Regions from separate parts of the Homo sapiens genome. Here region 1 is linked to region 2. The links are contacts of gene promoters, found by promoter capture Hi-C in blood cells and fetal thymus (Javierre and others, 2016). All regions are on one chromosome and are shown on one strand. The core of a region is centred on a gene start or on the middle of the fragment in contact, and the rest is flanking DNA. Distances in the headings are between cores, read along the strand shown. Region 1 overlaps LOC105371240 (a long non-coding RNA gene). Region 2 holds the start of ITFG1 (integrin alpha FG-GAP repeat containing 1).

Evidence for each region. Contacts are between HindIII fragments. The CHiCAGO score rates a contact against its expected background, and 5 or more counts as called.
Region 1: a contact is called between a fragment that was not itself captured here and the fragment with the promoter of ITFG1 in region 2, in 1 of 17 cell types (neutrophils). The highest score is 5.6, in neutrophils.

Annotation. Positions count from the first base shown.
Region 1 is chr16:48,630,802-48,636,495 of GRCh38, forward strand. The region is part of intron 1 of LOC105371240 (a long non-coding RNA gene); the gene reads left to right. Among named protein-coding and RNA genes, the nearest start is that of N4BP1, 23 kb to the left of the region's middle. The HindIII fragment of the contact is 5,727 bases long and covers 1-5,478 here.
Region 2 is chr16:47,458,898-47,465,039 of GRCh38, forward strand. ITFG1 (integrin alpha FG-GAP repeat containing 1) reads right to left here and starts at 2,166. Exons shown (of 18, transcript NM_030790.5): 1 at 1,941-2,166; 2 at 206-278. The coding sequence starts at 2,148. PHKB (phosphorylase kinase regulatory subunit beta) reads left to right here and starts at 2,434. Exons shown (of 31, transcript NM_000293.3): 1 at 2,434-2,529. The coding sequence starts at 2,454. RefSeq lists a silencer at 2,075-2,544. The HindIII fragment of the contact is 8,409 bases long and covers 1-4,320 here.

The sequences.
Region 1 (5,694 bases), core at 1,365-3,864, 1.2 Mb after region 2:
AGGAATGGAGCTTGAGAGAGAGGGAGCTATGCTCATGATCTCTGGGTAGTGAGGGCTGGAGCTGGGGCCAGCTTGGGCAGTCGGGCTTTAAAGTCCACGATTCCAACCCTTTTTTTCTTTTTTTTTGAGAAGGGGTCTCACTCTGTCACCCAGGCTGGAGTGCAGTGGTGCAATCTCGGCTCACTGCAACCTCTGCTTCCCAAGTTCAAGCGATTCTCTTGCCTCAGCCTACCGAGTAACTGGGATTACAGGCACTTGCCACCATTCCCCGCTAATTTTTGTATTTTTAGTAGAGATGGGGGATTCACCATGTTGGCCAGGCAAGTCTCGAACTCCTGACCTCAAGTGATCAACCTGCCTTGGCCTCCCAAAGTGTTGAGATTACAGGTGTGAGCCACCGCGCCTGGCCTGATTCTAACCTTTGGATATATTTCCTTTTTAAAAAAAGAAGGATCCCTTTCTGGTGGGGACCTCCAGATTTTAGACTCTTTAGACCTGTGCTATTTTATTGACTGGAGCCAAGCAGTGAAGCCCTGGGTGGGGAGCTGGGGACCTGGGCTCTGGTGTTAGCTCCCCTCTCTCCTACCCAGGGAGTCCCGGGCAGTCATTCAGGTTCTTTTTCTTAGTTTGTAGGTGGAGGATAATAATATTTCACCTGGGCCGGGCGCGGTGGCTCACGCCTGTAATCCCAGCACTTTGGGAGGCCGAGGCGGGCGGATCACGAGGTCAGGAGATCGAGACCATCCCGGCTAAAACGGTGAAACCCCGTCTCTACTAAAAATACAAAAAATTAGCCGGGCGTAGTGGCGGGCGCCTGTAGTCCCAGCTACTTGGGAGGCTGAGGCAGGAGAATGGCGTGAACCCGGGAGGCGGAGCTTGCAGTGAGCCGAGATCCCGCCACTGCACTCCAGCCTGGGCGACAGAGCGAGACTCCGTCTCAAAAAAAAAAAAAAATAAATAAATAAATAATATTTCACCTGTTCACCTTATAGCATCTTTGCAAGAATCTATGGAAAACAGACAATTGGAATTGAAATTGTATAGCAGTGGGAAAGGCAAGGTAGTGTCTGATATTCTTAGCAAATAGAAGGGTAAAAAGATGCGATTTTCCCTGATACCTCAAACCAACTGCACTTGAATTAACATAGAAACAGAAAACCAAATACCCCATGTTCTTACTTATAAGTGGGAGCAAAATATTGGGTATTGGGACACAAAGATGGAAACAATAGACACTGGGGACTCCTAGAGGGTAGAGGAAGAGAGCTGCAGGGGTTGGAAAACTACTTATTGGGTCCTATGCTTGTGACAGAATCAATCGTACCTTAAACTTCGGCATCATGCAATATACCCATGTAACAAACCTGCATGTATATCCTCTGCATCTAAAACAAAAGTTGAAATTAAAAAAGAAAAGAAGAGACGTGGCTGGGCAAGGTGGGTCACACCCATAATCCCAGTACTTTGGGTGGGCACCTGTAATCTCAGCTACTCAGGAGGCTGAGGCAGGAGAATCGCTGGAACCTGGGAGGTGGAGGTTGTAGTGATCTGAGATCACGCCACTGCATTCCAGCCTGAGGAACAAGAGTGAAACTCCATCTCAAAAAAAAAAAAAAAAAAGAAGAGACGTGGTTGTGCTAGGTTAATAATAAACCCTAAACTCTCAGCAGTTCAAAAGAACAGAGTGTCTTTCTCACCCCATGCTGTGTGTCCACTGCAGGTCCACCAGGGGCTCTGCTTGTCTTAGTCACTCAGGGGCCTTGTGTGACAGAGACTCCATCTCAACAAGTGCTTCTGTGACCCAGCAGGCAGTAAAAAGAGGATGGAGACCACAGACTGACCTGTCTGCTTCTGCCTAAAAGTGACACATGTCATTTTCACTCATACTTCATGGGCCAAAGCAGATCACATGGCCGTGCACGAGCTCAAGTGGGTGGAGAGGTGCAGCCCCACCATGTGCCCAGAAAGAGAGCTGAGCATTTGAGACCTTTCTTTCTTCTTTTCTGCTTTCCCTCTTCCCTTCTTCCTGCTTTCCTTCCCTTCTTATTTACTAAGTGCCTACTATTTAGATGATGTATCCTCACTGGGATTATCATTTGTTATTTAAAAAATTTAAATAATAAATTTAATTTGTTTTGTTATTTATTATTTACTTTTTTTTTTTTTCTGAGATGGGGTCTTGCTCTGTCACCCAAGCCAGAGTGCAGTGGCACGATCTCAGCTCACTGCAACCTCCGCCTCCCAGGTCCAAGCGATTCTCCAGCCTCAGCCTCCTGAGTAGCTGGGGTTACAGGCATGCGCCACCGTGCCAAGCTAATTTTTGTATTTTCAGTAGAGATGGGGTTTTGCCATGCTGGCCAAGCTGGTCTCAAACTCCTGAGCTCAGGTGATCCACCCACCTTGGCCTCCCAAAGTCCTGGGATTACCGATGTGAACCACTGTGCCTGGCCTGTTTTTATTTTCTAAAGATGGGGTCTTGCTCTGTTGCCCAACCTAGAGTGTAGTGGCTATTCACAGATATTATCATAGCTCACTGCATAGCTCACTGCAGAACCTGGGTTTACTGATGCACACCACTGCACCCAGCCTCACTGGGATTATAAAATAAGACAAAACTCCGTCCTCAAGGCTCACATGATCTCATGGCCGAGTCAGAAAAGCCGACCAAGATCAGCACAAGTTGATATGTGAACACAGATATGAGGCAGCTCACCCAGCCTGGTGTGAAGCTAAGGAAGGCTTCCTGGAGGACGTCCCCAAGGAAGGTAGGAACAAGCCTGATGAGAGGCAGGGGAACCTGAATAGCACAGCTCATGCCTGTAATCTTAGCTACCAAGAAGGCAGAGGCGGGAGGATATCTGGAATCCAGGTGTTCAAGACCAGCCCAGGCAACATAGCAAGACTCTTAAAAAAAAAAGACGCAGGGAGATCATTTTCAGCAGAAAGAGCAGAAGATGAAAATGTCTGCAGGAGAGCTCTGTGGCCAGCAGTAAGATGTTCTGCAGGCCTGAGGAATGTTGTGGGGGATGGTGTGAGGATGAGCAGGCACAGCAGGAAGTGGGTCCAGACCACTTAAGGCTTCAGGACCACTGGAGACTGGATTTCCTGAGAAGGCCATGGGGGCCATAGAGAGGCTGGTTAAATTTATTTTATTTTTTCCAATTTAGCCTTGACTTGAAACTCATAAATTTGTTTTCTCTGAGACAGGGTCTCACTATGTTGCCCAGGCTGAACTCAAACTCCTGGGCTTGAGCCATCCTCCTGCCTCAGTCTCCCGGGGTACTACAGGTGTAAGCCACCATGCCCGCCTGCCATAGAAAGGTTTTAAGCAGGACATTAACACTGTGAGGTCCTCTCTCTGTAGGGTGGGTTGGAGGGGAAAGGATTGAGAACAGAGAGACAGCACTTTGAGAGGCTGAGGCAGGTGGATCGCTTGAGGTCAGAAGTTCAAGAACAGCCTGGCCAACATGGTGAGATCCCGTCTCTACTAAAAATACAAAAATTAGCTGGGCGTGGTGGTGTGTGCCTGTAATCCCAGCTATTCAGGAGGCTGAGGCAGGAGAATTACTTGAACCTGGGAGGCGGAGGTTGCAGTGAGCCGAGATGGCACCACTGCATTCCAGCCTGTGCAACAAGAGTGAAACTCCATCTCAAAAAAAAAAAAAAAAAAAAGAAAGGAAAGATAGGATGCTGATGTCATAGCTAGAGGGAGATGACAGAGCCTCAAATGCAGGCAATGTTTGGGGACATAGAGAGGATAAAATTGATCAGAGAGGTGATATGCAGAGGCAGCCTATAGGACTTGGTTTTTATGGAAAGTGGGAGTAACGCTGAACCTTAAGAATGTCTGGGTTTCAAATGGCATGGAATGGCTGAGGTGTATTATTCATTCAGGATACTTATTAATGTCTATCATGGGTTCTTTCTGGGTGCTTGGAATACATCAGTGTTAAAAGAGACCAAAAAAAAAAAAAAGAAGACAATTCCCTGCCCTCGTGATCGTGAGGTTGATATTCCAGTGGGGGAGCAGGCAATAAATACCAAATCTAAATATGTACATTTTACAATATTAAAAAGTAGACCACATTGGGGGAAAGGCAGGGAAAGGATGGTCGGGAGAGTTGGGAAGGGAGGGGTGTCGATATTTTAAGTAGGGCAGTTAGAAAAGATCTCATTGAGGTTGGGCTGAGTGGCTCACACCTGTAATTCCAGCACTTTGGGTGGTCAAGACAGGAGGATTGCTTGAGCCTAGGAGTTCAAAACCAGCCTGGGCAACATAGTGAGATATCGTCTCTACAAATAAAAAAATTAGCCAGGTGTGGTGGTGCACACCTGTGGTCCCAGATATTCAGGAGGCTGAGGAGGAAGGATCATTTGAGCCCAGGAGTTTGAGGCTGCAGTGAGCTATGATTGTGCCACTGCACTCCATCCTGGGCAACAGAGTTCAGAAAAAGAATAAAAAGAAGAAATCTCATTGAGAGGTGATATTTGACAAGAGTCTTGAAGGAGGCAGGAGTAATGGAGAGGGTGCGTTCTCTGTTCCAGAGGCTAGACTGAGGGAGGAGGCAGGCGGCGTGCACACCAGTTCCCAGGAGAGATGTTTCCCTTAGGTGGCCTTCCATGACATCCACCACACACTTACGCTTCCATCTCATTTTCCAGGACTCACATACACGACCATCTCTGTCTCCAGGGAAGACTAGGCCATGCAGGGAGGGGAGATGGATGCCAAGCCAGGCGTCTGCCACCTCAGAAGGTGACACTTGAGCTGGGTGCTGGTGAATGAATGCACAGGCTTATTTCAGTGAGTAGAGATGATGAGGGGCATTCCAGGCAGAGGAAATGGAACGTAAAGGCAGAAAGGAGTGGAAAAGAATGTTTGGGAAAATACACGCTGGATGGAGTGACTGGAAGAGAGAGAGAGAGTGTGTGTGTGTGTGTGTGTTTGTGTGTGTATGTGTGTGTATGTGCGTGTGTATGTGCGTGTGTGTGGGTAAGGGTGAAGCACACACAGAGGTCACAGACTCAGATGCTCTCAGAGTTGAGGCAGGAAGTGAATGAGGCCAACAGAGATTAAGCAACAGGGAACAGTGGAGTCTGTGGCATCTTGGTGTGCTCAGCTCCCATCTGAAGTGGGTAGCTGTGATTTTGCTTCAAGTCGTATAATATAGGACCAAGGGGGCTGGATAGTCTAATTTCTTCTGAGCAGCCAAGAATCTAGATTTTTATATAAAATCCTCCAGTTTTAACTAATTAAACATTTTAAGCATGCTAAGTGAACATGTCGGTAGCTTGGACATGGCCCATAGACAGCTGGTTTGTGTGGGGTAATATAGAACATAAGGGGGTGGACCCACAGTTCATTGCTGGAATCAAGCTAAATAAAATATCTCAAAGGGCAACAGGGGCAAGTTGAAAAGAAGAAGGACGCTAGTTAGCCAGTTAAGACCGATCACTTTGTCTCAGGGTTTCGTTCTAAGCTTTGCTGGTTTAGAAATTCTGCCAGGCGCAGTGGCTCAGGCTGGGGGTGGTGGCTCACGCCTGTAATCCCAGCACTTTGGAAGGCTGAGGCGGGCCTATCACTTGAGGTCAGGAGTTCAAGACCAGCCTGGCCAACATGGTGAAACCCTGTCTCTACTATAAATACAAAAATTAGCCAAGTGTAGTGGCACGTGCCTGTAGTCCCAGCTACTC
Region 2 (6,142 bases), core at 916-3,415:
CACTCAAATTTATTTCTTTAAAGTCATTTTTAAACTTTGGTATTTTCACTATTTTTCCAAAAAATCACTTGCTACTCATACCTCACAAACAGTGGTTTTGCATCCCAACACTAAGGCTGACTTTAAAGACAACCAATCAGCTACTGCATATCCATTATTATATTAATGACTAAAGTTTTATCAAAATAATCATATTTGTACTTACTTGAAAGATACCTTTACTTTGGGTTTAAAATAGGGTGCATTCTGGTCTGCCAAAAAGACGATTAAGTCATTTCCTAAAGAAAACAAATATATGATATTAGAAAAATGTTTGTTGATAAGATATCTAATCAGTGGTTACAAGAAGGTTTCTGGGCACTGTTCTCAACAAGAAAACTTTTATTCTACTCCAGTTCATCTGCCCTCTCAAGCATAGTCCCACTAGTCCAATGGAGATGCCTAACATTATATCACAAGTTCAATGTTCAAAGTAGCAGAGAAATAGAAAGGATGAACATGGGAAAAAGCAGCTGATCAAGAGAAACTGAAGCCAGTGGATTCTGCGAGGAGTCAGATTGGTTGACTTAAAAGAACCATATAAAGATGCCTTATAACTATACTACATGTCAAGACTTGTCTTCCCCGAATCTAGCAATGCTGTCCCTTGTAAGGCTGTTTGGTTCATTACACAGATGCATCACACCAAGGATGCAGGGACTCCCATTGTAGATATCTGACAAAGACATAATTAAGCATGTGAGCACAAAATGCTGAATCCTCCAAGACCCTCCTCCTATGGGGCCATCCTCCAGAGGGTGACACATTCTTGGAGCTCAATTAGCACTCATTGAGACAGACTTTTGGAATTGTTTAATCAAACACAGGCCATCTTTAAAGTCAAGGCTACTCTCTGTATCCAGTTTGGACACAGCAGCAACAGGTTTGGCAGTACACTGCAAAATGAGGAGTCAAAAAGATTGGGAAAATATTCAGGGTTTGTAAGAGGTTCCTGCATCCCCGCAAGGGCTCCAAGAAGTCTGGTTCAGGATCCTGTCAGGCAAGCTCTGAGTAGCTCTTCCTTCCTTCCTTCACAGCATTGATCTTTAAGCAGCACCTGCTTCTGTAGGTACTCAAGAACCCTAAGACCCCCTAATGCCCACTGTCAGCATCAAGATTTACAAAAAAGTTAGTTTAACGATTGTCAAAGCAAAGAATTTCCAAGAACAAGTTAGCAAAGAAAGTAGACATTTGGAACACTAAGGTGATGACCAAGATGAGGAAGGAGTACACGAAAGAACAGGCAGCTCAAGAGAGAAATTTCTGTAGTTTGAGACTGCTTTCCCAAGGAGGCATTGGGTTTATCAGTGGTCCCTGCAAAATGCTTGTGTGAGCTGTTTAGTGTTTAGGCCCTTGGAAGGGTACATTCGCTTCATAGAAAGTTGTGGCCTTGACAAAGAAAGGGGTGGGCGAATTAGGTAGGTGGGGAGGCAAGAAGAAGCCCCCTATGAGAAGAGATTGTCAGGTTGCACCTTTTCATGTTCATCAACGGGGAAGGAAGACTGAAGCAAAATAGAAAGGAATGAGTGGGCCTTGGGAGCGAACGTTGAGGCAAGCTACAAAGATTCCTAGGAATCAGGAAGCACTTTGGAAAACAGGTGATTCCATGGGGAGGAGGGGGTAAGGTGACTGGGTGAGGGCCGCAGACTTCTTAGGAACAAAACTGAGGTGCTGTCAGGGCTTTTGAGGGTAGGTCAAACTGTAGGGTAGCTGGGTCAGAACCTGGGGTTGGAAAGGGTGGTGCAAAAGGACAAGCTGTTAAGAATGCTAAAGGGAAGGCCACAGGGCTGGGAGAGAAGGACCAGGAAATGCAGAAGGACCGGCCATTGGGCAATGGGTTTGGGGAACACCGGGAGAGGCACACGGACAGCGAACAGAGGGAGGGCCCGGCAAGCACTGACTTTCCCGCAGCACGAAGAGATCCGTCTGCTTGTCGGAGTTGAGGTCCCCGAAAGCCGCAAGGGTGCCCCAGGCCTCGGCCCCAAAGAGCTCGGCCGTGACGTTGTGCAGCGCCCGCGCTGGGACCGGCCCGACTCCCAGTAGTGCAAGCCCTGCGAGGAGCGGCGAGAAGAGGGCCCAGGAGCTCGGGAGCCGGCCCGCCGCCGCCATGGCAGCCCCTCAGCCCCCGCCCGCCGGCCCAACGCCGCGCTTGACGACAGCCGCAAAGCACCGCGTTACCGGCCGAGAGAGTGGCGCGCAGCCCCGGGACGCGTAAGAGCCGCTGCCGGCTCCTTTTTCTCTCTCCCACTAGGGCTGCCCTTCCGACGCTAAAAAAGCAGTGGAGCTAGGGTGAAAGCCGCCCTCACGCTCACTTCCGGCAGGCGCGCCTCCCGACAGTGTCGTGCGGGGGGCGTGGCCCGGCATTGCTGACAGGCGGCCCCGGGGGCGGTGGCCAAGGCGGCGACCGGAGCGCGATGGCGGGGGCGGCGGGACTCACGGCAGAAGTGAGCTGGAAGGTCTTGGAGCGAAGAGCTCGGACCAAGCGCTCAGGTTTGGCTGGCTGGGGCGCCGCCCCCCACCCGAGTACCTTGGGTGGTGCTTCGCCTCAAGCGCCTTGGCGGGAGGCAGGTGGGGGCCCTGGGAATGAACCTGTGCCCCGAGTTCCTCCTTAGAAAGCAGGTGGCGGCCCTGGCCTTGTTTCTAATATCTTCCTCCACCTCTAAAAATTAGGTGGCAGAGCCAGCTCCACTCTGCGTGTGCCCCCGACTCTATTCCGCTTGTGAGCCCCACTCGGAAAGTAGGCAGCGGTCCGGACTTCCCTTAGAGTCTTCTAACTTAAAAATCGGGCGGCGGCACATTCCTGGGAAAGGGAATGTGTCTTCCCTGTGAATGTGTCTTTCCTGTGAATGTTCTCTGCAAAAGTCAGATAGCTTAATCAGACCAAGTCAGATGTAACTACGATCTGGCTGCAGAAAGCCGGCGTCTGGGCTCCTTGCTTTATGTCTTATATCCCTTTTACATTCCCCACAGGTTCTAAGCAGTAGACCTGTCATCTATCTAGCAGAAACTGAAGGAGACTGGGCCTCAGATATTGAAGAGTATAGTTAGGGCCCAGAAAGAAAAGGGCTTCTTAAGTGGCCCCAGGTTGTGTGGTTTCCAAACCCGAAAGCATAGAGGTCAGAAGGTGCCTTGCAGGCAGTTTTAACAGTTCCAAGTGTCCCGAACTGACTTGTTCAAATTGCAACGTCATGACTTGTGGCGTTATTAAAACTTCCTGTATTCCTGGTTGGCTGGATATAATCTTGAACAAAAGGCATGCACTTAAACAGGAAAGGTGAAAGGCGGAATGCAGGTTTTCAGCTAAGGAGCTTCCCTTTTAAAGAATTGATGAAGTGTCATTATTGGGGGTGGGTGTGAAAGGTGTTAGCTAGGAAAATTAACTTTGCACTTGCATTGATATTAAGAAATTATTTTCGGACGGGCGCGGTGGCTCACGCCTGTAATCCCAGCACTTTGGGAGGCCGAGGCGGGCGGATCACCTGAGGTCAGGAGTTCGAGACCAGCCTGGCCAACCTGGTAAAACCCCATCTCTACTAAAAATACAAAAATTACCTGGGCGTGGTGGCGGGCGCCTGTAACCCCAGCTACTCGGGAGTCTGAGGCAGAAGAATTGCTTGAACCTGGGAGGCGGAGGCTGCAGTGAGTGGAGGTCGCACCACTGCACTCCAGCGTGGGCGACAGAGTGAGACTCCGTCTCAAAAAAAAAAAAAATTATTTTCTCACCTAATATGTTCTCCTTACGTTTTGGGCTTTTCCTATTTATGAAGTTCTTAGTTGTCTGTTGTGCACACTGACTTTTTTTTTTTTTTTTTTGGAGAAAGTAAATCTAATTTCTGAAAATCTAATTTCAGAAATCATACACCGAACACTCTGTTTTTTTATACCTTACAAAAAGTTCAGCTTTATATACTTAGGGTTATAGTAAAATTACCATCTATGAAGTATGAGATAATTTTTTCAAAAAGTAGTCCTTAGTACTACTAAGAATCAATAAAGTGACTTGGAATAGTCACATGTATTTGTTTCACACTTTTTCTTAAATTGTTTTTGTGTGATATAGAAATACTGAGTTGGCTACTAACGATGTGGCTATCTGGATATAAAAAGTGTTATTGGATTGGTTATGTCTGAACAAAGAGAATAACTGGAGTTTTCTTACAGGGACCTGAGTACTGCCCCCAACATATATTTTTGCAACATTTCTCTTTAACTTTCATAAGCTCATAGAGTTGATTTTCTTCGTCAGTCTTTGTTTCCTCTGAAATGCATGTCATAACAGTAAGCTTTGAAAACCTTAATTCTCTTTTCTTAGCTGAGAAAAAAAATTCTAGTGTTAACTGTTGTTGAGTGCAGTTATTTAAATCCACTTTTATGTGCAAAGTGCATAGTATCAATGTTGAATGTTCCTGTATGTTTACATCATAGTAGTAAAGAGATACCACTTGAAGTTATTCCTCCAAATTAATAGTTAAATTTGAGGTTTCAGATTCTTGTAAGTATATGAAGTACAGAGGATAAAGTTAATAACTCGAGTTAATAACTTCCTGTATCATTAAAAGCAATCAACTTGATTCTGTTTGTTACTTTTAGAAGAATATATAAATGGAGCTTTGTTAAACACTTGACTAACCTGACTCCAGTATAGAGTCCTCCCCACAGAGTTCTGAGCATTGTTACATAGTAGCATAATTACTTCACTGCACAACAGAGGATACTACTTTTATGTAATGTCTAATAAGTGGATATTATATAGTTTCTATCTCATCCATATGAGCAAGTGTAATTTATCAAAGCAAAGAAAATCACATTTTCAAGTCATAAAAGAGAAAATAAAATTATAATGATCCTCAGTTACTGCCTTTGTTGCATACTGCATCATGTTAATAACTGCTCACACTGCTTTCAATTAATTTAACACTGATTGCTTCTAACCTTTACTAAACAGTTTTAAAATTGCTATAGCTTAGCCTGCGACGCTTATGATTAGAGCCAACAATTTGAAATGGCCTGCTCACCTGATGCAGTCGTCTCTCCGTCTTCCGCTTTCTTAAGGTCTGGTAAGTGTTGTAGACCCCAAAAGGGTCACTTGGTAATTTTAAATACCTTTGTTTCTGAAGGTTGATTTCACTATAAGATATCATTATGTCTTTATTTCTTCTTTGGTGGGCCCAGGCCTGAGTACCCGGCTGGTGTTTTGTTTAACTTTGCATTGTGTTTTGAATGTGGCCTATTGTGTTCTTCTCATGTGGGATGTGAAAAGAACAGAGAGTGGAGTGCCTGCCCCGATATTTGCAAGCAGAGGCAGTTCCTTAGTGTCTGGGAGCTCCCATTGTCAAATGTGCACATAGCATATTTCTTAAATGATTTTTGTCTTCTTGCCACAATGGAAGTAACTTCTACAAATTAGGAAATTTTGGTCAACATCCCACTTATCTGTTCTTCATCAGCTTACTGTGAAGCAGGTTATTAATATACACGTTTTCACAGACAGGAAGCGACTTGCCCCAGGGAATATTTTGAGGCCATGTGCTTTGGCCTTTATCCTGTGGCATCCTGGTGTAAGGGCTGGAACAGATGTTGGCACAATGGCTCTTAGACCGTTGTGTTGATGCACCCCTTTGAGAGCTGGATGAAAGCTATGGAATTGCTCTTCAGACGTGTGCACAGGATTTTGGAAACAATTTCTGGGTGATTCATGGACCCAGACATGATTACCTATGCATTCCCATTAGCAACCAGGCCTTTGGATGTATTCAGTGTCACTTTACAGAACAAGCCACACATTTAGTTAGGTGGCCACATAGCTGAAATGAAAACTGAAGCATTTACAGCCCTTTTCTGTAGTTGTGGCCTAACTTGGGCCATTTAAAACCTATTATGTACTAGAAAACTCGGAGAAGCCTGCTGGTAAGAGATTACCTTTTCTATAATGCCTCTTAAGCAGAATATTTCAAGCCTCAGGACTCATGAACAGGCAAATGTGAGATGAGCACCCCCAAACACAGTGAAAACTCCTTGGCTTCACCATAGCCTTTCAGAAGTGTTTCTCCCTCTTCATTCATTTTCGTTTATATTTCAAGTCCTGTTCTGGCAAGATAGAGGA